2 separate regions of the Homo sapiens genome follow, and region 2 is linked to region 1. The links are contacts of gene promoters, found by promoter capture Hi-C in human tissues and cell types (Jung and others, 2019). All regions are on one chromosome and are shown on one strand. The core of a region is centred on a gene start or on the middle of the fragment in contact, and the rest is flanking DNA. Distances in the headings are between cores, read along the strand shown. Region 1 holds the start of IFITM1 (interferon induced transmembrane protein 1). Region 2 holds the start of POLR2L (RNA polymerase II, I and III subunit L).

Region 1 (2,500 bases), core at 1-2,500:
ATGAAGTCACAGCATCATCACAAGCACGTGCACTTTATTGAATGACACTGTAGACAGGTGTGTGGGTATAAACTGCTGTATCTAGGGGCAGGACCAAGGGGGCAGGGGCAACAGCCCCAGCGTGCAGGGCCAGCATTGCACAGTGGAGTGCAAAGGTTGCAGGCTATGGGCGGCTACTAGTAACCCCGTTTTTCCTGTATTATCTGTAACATAATATGGTAGACTGTCACAGAGCCGAATACCAGTAACAGGATGAATCCAATGGTCATGAGGATGCCCAGAATCAGGGCCCAGATGTTCAGGCACTTGGCGGTGGAGGCATAGGCCTGGGCCCCGGTCACGTCGCCAACCATCTTCCTGTCCCTAGACTGGGGGAGAGGAGATGGTGAGGGGACCAGGATCCCCCAGCTGAGAGCCGCGTGCTATGGCTCCGTCTCCTCCCCGCCCTGAGATCAGGGACCACCTCCTCCCCTTCCTCACCCGGGCTCAGACTCTCCAGGAGCCTCGGGGCTCATCCTCCTTCTGCCTTGGCCCCAGCACAGGCTGTTCTCCCCACCATGGGGTGAAGTCACCTGTGAGTTCCCTTCTCACTTTCTGGGAGAGCCTGGGTGCCAGTCTGGAAGGTGAGGGTGTAATTTCTTACTGGGCTATAGGGAGAATTGCTCTGGGCTAATGGATAGCCAGGGACAGACTCTGAGCCAGCCAGCCAGCCTCCTGGAGCCTCCTCCTAGACCTGCACTGGGCAGATTCCCCAAAGCCACACACACACACAGATCACACAGACAAAGCTACTGACGTGAGCACACACGGGGCAGAGGTGCACACAAACTCACAGTCACAGGGACACACAAGTCCCCACCCCAGGCAGCATGTGGGCAGGTGGAGCCCCAGGCTCACCGGCACCCCCTGGATTTCCGCCAGGGCCATACGCACCTTCACGGAGTAGGCGAATGCTATGAAGCCCAGACAGCACCAGTTCAAGAAGAGGGTGTTGAACAGGGACCAGACGACATGGTCGGGCACGGAGGTCTCGCTGTGGATGTTGATCACGGTGGACCTTGGAAGGATGGTGCTGGGGGGTGGCCCCAGCACAGCCACCTCATGTTCCTCCTTGTGCATCTTCTGGCTTTGGGGAAGGAAGTGTTGAGTGAAGGTTTGAGAAGTGTGGTTTTCTGCGTGGAGCGAAGGGCCGCTGTGGTGTCCGGATGCTGGGACGGTGCTCAGTGAGACCTCCTTTCCCCTGTCGTTTCAGTTTCTCAGAAGTGTGTATTTCTCTTAAGTTTCTATTTCCTGCTGTTTGTAAATTGGTGAATTAGCCAGGGACCAATGAGGTGTGGTTTAACTTCTTGAGGATCAAATTACTTTATGGCAGGGTGGGAGGAAAGGCTGAAGGCTAAGGAGAGAGGCTTCCTCATCAGAAACTCAAGTCAGGACTAGTGACTTCCTAAGTGTTGGGTTTAGGGGGCCCTGGGGATTTTACCCAGGCTTGGGTTCTGTCCACCCCAGGCCAGCAAGTACAGGACCTCACTGTCCCGGTTCAGGGCCCCTGCCAGGCCCCCACACTCCAGGCGCCAGGACAATCCCCCAAAAGCCCTCACCTCACTTGTCGCAGGCCTCTCTCCTGAAATCCTTGCTCTTTCCTCAGGCTGCAGTCCTGCTCTGTGCGGGTTTGGGGACTAAACCTCCCAGTGTCTCCTGGTGCAGGTCAGAGGCCTGGTGGCCAAAGTTTCCTGCCCCAAAGCAGCCCTCCAGGCCCAGGAACGGGGACTCTGGGGAGAACTGACTCCCCAGAGGGTAGTGTGTTGAGACACGGGGAGGATTCCAGGGCCTGTAGGGGCAGCTTCAGAGCACAGGGCACACATGTGCCACCCCCTACCTTCCGGGTCCCAGCAATTCCCATGGCTTTGGTTGGGGTGAGTGCTGGATGACCTAGGCGTTGGGTCCTAGCCATGCAGGAGAGACCTGGAGGGTTGGCAAAGCCAAGTCTGGGGCTGTCAGGCCTGGGTGCCCCTTCACAGGGACGGGGAATTGTAGACTGAGTAGCAGAAGGGAGCCCTCAGGCACAAGGATCATGAATTACAAATTGCAAATTACATAAAGGAAAAATCAGAGCCCAAAGGTGGGCCTGCAATTATTAATGTAATGTTCTTAAGTTCTCTTTCTGCTTTCGTTTCTGCCTGCTTTAAGTCTGCTGTTACTTTTCTACAGAGATAAAATCCACTGTTTGCATCCAACCATTTCTTTTTATTGTTTGTGTAAACCAATGAATTTGTATTACTATCTCATGGCTGGAGTTCTGAAGTAAAACCATACTTTTGCTTGAGTGTGTATGTGTGTATATGTGCACATACACATATTTCGTTATGTGTTTTTGGCCACAAGTTACCAAATTTAGCTTAAACTTAAAGAGTACTCATAAATTAAATAATAAGCCTAAATGCTTTTCACGTTCATGTGACTTAAGTAGAATCTTTAATAAGCTAGCTTTAAAATTACTGGT
Region 2 (4,502 bases), core at 15-2,514, 530 kb before region 1:
GGCAAACCAGCCCAGAGCCCCCCATGGGTGCCGCTTTGCGGCCCACCCACCCCCACAGCCCACCTCGCACCTCCAAGGAGCCTTCTTTGCCTCTCACTGCACACCGACCCCCCATTTCCTCACCCCCACCCCAGGGGCACAGCAAGAAGGGTGCTGGTGCCAGCCCCCCCGCACTCCATCCGAGAGACACGGGCTCCTCGTCCCTCGTCGTCCGTAGGCCCTGAGCTCCAGGGCAAGCCAGAGCTGAGGCCTTCAGGGGGTCCTGCCAGTGCAGCCTCCGGGAGTCTGCCCAGGGATCCCCTGTGCCGGGGTCTTCCAGGTTCAGCTCAAAAAGCACCTCTTCCACGACTCCCTCCCCGACCTCCCTCCCGGGTCCCCTCTCCCCGTGCTCAGAGGCGCGTCTGAGCGTCGGGAGCTCGGGACGGCGAGCAGCCAGCAGAGCCGGGACCCGGGAGGGCGCACCCCGACCCCATTCCCGGGAAAGAGCGGAAAGAACGCGGACAGGAGCCCGGGGCGGGGAGCTGCCGGCGGGGGCTGTAATTGCGCAGCTGAGGCCAGGGCGGCGCCCCTAGGGGCTGGGCCGCGTCCAGAATGGGACCCCCGAACTCAGCGCCGAGAGCCCCGGACACCCCGCGGGCAGAGGCCGAGGCGGAGGAACCCACTACTCGGCGCGGCCAGGAGGGGCGGCAGGAAGACCCGCCCCGGCCCCCGCCCGCCCTCTCCCCGAGCCCCCGCGCCGGACCCCACTTGTTGCTGCGTGTCGGCTCTGGGCTCGAACTCGCGCGCCCCGCTCGCGTCCGGCTCCAGCCGCTCCCGGTCGGACACCTCCGGCCACGGGACCCTGGCCGCACGCCCCCACAACCCCCAGGCGCAGTACCTGCGCCGCCGCCTCCCGCTCGCGCCGCCCGCTCCCGCCGCGCAGCTGTCAGTCAAGCGGACACGAGAAACGCGAACCGCCGCCGCAGCTTTACGGCCCTGCTCAGACGCCGTAGCGCCGGGATGCACCAAGACGGTGGGCGGGGGTGTGCGGTCTGCTGCTGCCGCGGCCGCGCGGGCCCGGGAGCCCCGGGACGCACAGGCCCAGGAGCCCCGGGACGCACGGGAAGCCCCTATCGCGGCGGAAACTGCGGCCAGCGGTGGCGGGGCCGGTGGAGGGACGGCCGGAACAGCGGAGAACGAGCGGAGCCGATTCTCCCGCAACAGTGGACGCGCCCGGGGCGGGGCCTGGGGGGGTTCTTCGCGTGCGGCCGGGCCGGGCCGGGCAGTCTGGGACGCGCCGCCGCCATGATCATCCCTGTACGCTGCTTCACTTGTGGCAAGATCGTCGGCAACAAGTGGGAGGCTTACCTGGGGCTGCTGCAGGCCGAGTACACCGAGGGGTGAGGCGCGGGCCGGGGCTAGGGGCTGAGTCCGCCGTGGGGCGCGGGCCGGGGCTGGGGGCTGAGTCCGCCCTGGGGTGCGCGCCGGGGCGGGAGGCGCAGCGCTGCCTGAGGCCAGCGCCCCATGAGCAGCTTCAGGCCCGGCTTCTCCAGCCCCGCTCTGTGATCTGCTTTCGGGAGAACCTTATCCCCTGAAGTCTGGGGAAGAGAACGGAGTTGGGCTTCAAACCAGTGGTGTCCTGGGGATTCTAGGTGGCCTGGCGGGTCGCAGGCGTCTTGTCACCCGCAGTAAAGCCCTTGGCCTCCGCCCTATTCCCATCTCTGCCCCCAGGCCCACCCCATGTCCTGCAAACCTCGCTGCAGGACGGGCGGGCGCGGCGGCTGACATCTGTAATCCCAGCAGTTTGGGAGGCCGAGGCGAGAGGCTTGCTTGAGCCCAGGAGGTCGAGACCAGCCTGGACAACCTGGGGAGACCCTGATCTCCAGAAATTTATTTTATTTTATTTTTCTTTTTTGAGACGGAGTCTCGCTCCGTCGCCCAGGTTGGAGTGCAGTGGCGCGATCTCGGCTCACTGCAACCCCCGCCTCCTGGGCTCCAGCAATTCTCCTGTCTCAGCCTCCCGAGTAGCTGGGACTACAGGCGTGTGCCACCACGCCCGGCTAATTTTTGTATTTTCAGTAGAGATGGGATTTCGCCATGTTGGCCAGGCTGGTCTGGAACTCCTGACCTCAGGTGATCCACCCGCCTCGACCTCCCAAAGTGCTGAGGTTACAGGCGTGAGCCACCGCGCCTGGCTCTATCTTTTTAATTCGCCGGACATGGCGGTGCACACCTGTGGTCCCAGCTACTTGGGAGGCTGAGACGAGAAAATCGCTTGAGTCTGGGAGGCAGGTGGAGGTTGCAGTGAGCCAAGATCACGCCACTGCACTCCAGCCTGGAAGAGAGAGTGAAACTCCGTCTCACGCACACACACACACAGAAAAAGAAATGCAGGGTAGACTTGCTGACCACCCTCATCAGGCTTTGTAGGGGAGGCGTCTTTCTCCTGTGCTTGTCCCTTGGTGCTGCTGTCACCACGGTGCCTGAGTCTTGGTGCCCCCGCTGGAGTCTGACCCTCGCCCACTGAGTCTTCGTCACATGTGAAGCCCTGGGCTTGTGTGCGCCAGCCTGCCATCGGCACTTGGTGCAGCTTGCTGGACAAACGAGGAAAGCGAGTGGGCTGCTAGACTGAGTGGCTGGCGGCCTGTCCAGACCCTTTCCCCGGATAGGAACGGCAGGGGCCTCCCATGTGGCCTCCCCTTTCCCAAGCTTCTGTGTCTCTGCACATTGGAGCCATCGGTGTGGGAGTTTTCTGGAGGTCTTGAGGGTGACTGGAGCTAGGTCCCAGGGAAATGAAAGCTTCTAATTGGCTTGGGAAGTGGGAGAGGTGGCTCCGTGGAGAAGCAGTCTCTCTCTGATGGAAGGAAGCAGAGGTGAGGAAAGACCCCACAGCGGCAGAGCAGGGCTTGCTCTGGCTGGGGTGGGGGTGAACCAGCTAAGGGCAGGCCCCTGGAGAGCTACCCTGCCGTGGCCAGTGCTGGATGAGGTGGCTGCACATCAGCACCTTGGTGGTCTTGGTTTTCTAAGCTCCCCGCAATTACTTCGTTTTCATTTCATTTACATTTCTTACATACGTTATACACACACACGTACAGCCAGAGTAGGTGGGAGAGGAGGCTCCTCACGCTCCACCCAGGGTTCTGGGCATTTCCAGGTTACTCCAGCCAGGATCATACTGCTAGATCTCAGCTTCTGAGCCGGGTGAATCTGTTCGCCTTGCCGGTGGCGGGGGGGGTGAGGCCAGCAGGCAGTGAGAGGCAGGTTGGATGTGGGCTCCAGGCCTTTGCAGACCGTAGAGAACTCAGTTGGCCTCTGCTCCTCCCCTCGACACAGGGATGCGCTGGATGCCCTGGGCCTGAAGCGCTACTGCTGCCGCCGGATGCTGCTGGCCCACGTGGACCTGATCGAGAAGCTGCTCAATTATGCACCCCTGGAGAAGTGACCACGCTGGAACCCACCCACCCGCTGTGCTGACCATGGGCCCTGAGCGTCCTGCCCCGAATTCACGAGGCTGAGGCATCCGGGAGCTGGCGTAATGCCTGGCCGCAGTGTGTGTGTATCCGATACCCCACTCTGGAAGGAACCATCCAGTAAAGGTCTTTCAGAACCACTAAGGTCCCAGCCCTCACTAGGATGTCAGGAGCCAGGTCTAGGCCCAGCTTTCACACTGTGGCAGCCCAGTGAAGCAGACTGGGCCATGAACTCTCCTAGCCCTGGGGCCAGCCTGTTCCACAGGCACCCCTGCAGGAGGCGCTGCCAGGAGAGCCTTCCATCTCGGGGCTCTTTGAGGTTCCCTCCTTCTGGGTGTTCTTCAGGCTGAGCAGAGAGGCTCCTGTACCCTCTCTCTCGGAATCTGAAGAGCCAGATTTAGGCCGGGCAAAGGGGCTCACCCCTATAATCCCAGGACTTTGGGAGGCCAAGGCAGGAGGATCACTTGAGTCCAGAAATTCAAGACCCGCCTGGGCATCATAATGAGACCCCATCTCTACAACAAAATTTAATAAATTAGCTGGGCACAGTGTTCACACCTGTAGTCCCGGCCACTCGGGGCTGAGGCAGGAGGATCACTGGAACCTGGGAGGTTGCCACTGCAGTGAACTGTGTTTGCACCACTGCACTCCAGCCTGGGCAACAGAGTAAGACTCTGTCTCAACACAACTATGAAAAAGAAGAGAGAAACAGATTTTCTGGGGCCCAGTCTCTGCTGTGGTCAGGGCTGCCAGTACCTGCTGGCCTCTGCCCACTGCTGCCTGTCCCTGAGCGTCCCACCCAAGCCCAGCAGGGAGGGCAGGCCTTAAGACGCTCCTAGCTGGGTTGGGAGGTGGCCCTAAGGAGGCCCTGCTGTCCAGGCAGTGCTGCCAGCAAGCACCCCAGGTCAGATGTCCCTGCTGCCCAGATATCTGGCGTGGTGTCCTCTGGTAGGGGAGAACGGGTCTGCCTGAGGGTCTACAGTTCTGAGCCTTAAGGACAGGAACCTGGGCAGTGGGGGGCACAATCAGTGACCGAGCCCTGGCTCCCATCTC

What was found. The method cuts DNA at HindIII sites, captures the fragments that hold promoters and counts their contacts. A contact is called where the count stands out against the background at its distance.
Region 2: the fragment with the promoter of POLR2L here is called in contact with the fragment with the promoter of IFITM1 in region 1 in 1 of the 25 tissues and cell types used here (small bowel).

The regions. Positions count from the first base shown.
Region 1 is chr11:312,790-315,289 of GRCh38, reverse strand. It overlaps IFITM1 (interferon induced transmembrane protein 1), which reads right to left and starts at 1,250. Exons shown (of 2, transcript NM_003641.5): 1 at 934-1,250; 2 at 18-368. The coding sequence starts at 1,119. The coding sequence ends at 177. RefSeq lists enhancers at 257-416, 947-1,286, 754-1,309, 1,310-1,865. The HindIII fragment of the contact is 8,559 bases long and covers 1-2,500 here.
Region 2 is chr11:839,291-843,792 of GRCh38, reverse strand. POLR2L (RNA polymerase II, I and III subunit L) reads left to right here and starts at 1,264. Exons shown (of 2, transcript NM_021128.5): 1 at 1,264-1,379; 2 at 3,313-4,072. The coding sequence starts at 1,285. The coding sequence ends at 3,421. TSPAN4 (tetraspanin 4) reads right to left here and starts at 941. Exons shown (of 9, transcript NM_003271.5): 1 at 878-941. RefSeq lists silencers at 269-437, 423-652, 673-762, 873-1,502, 3,731-3,780 and enhancers at 771-1,514, 1,515-2,260, 2,261-3,005. The HindIII fragment of the contact is 28,886 bases long and covers 1-4,502 here.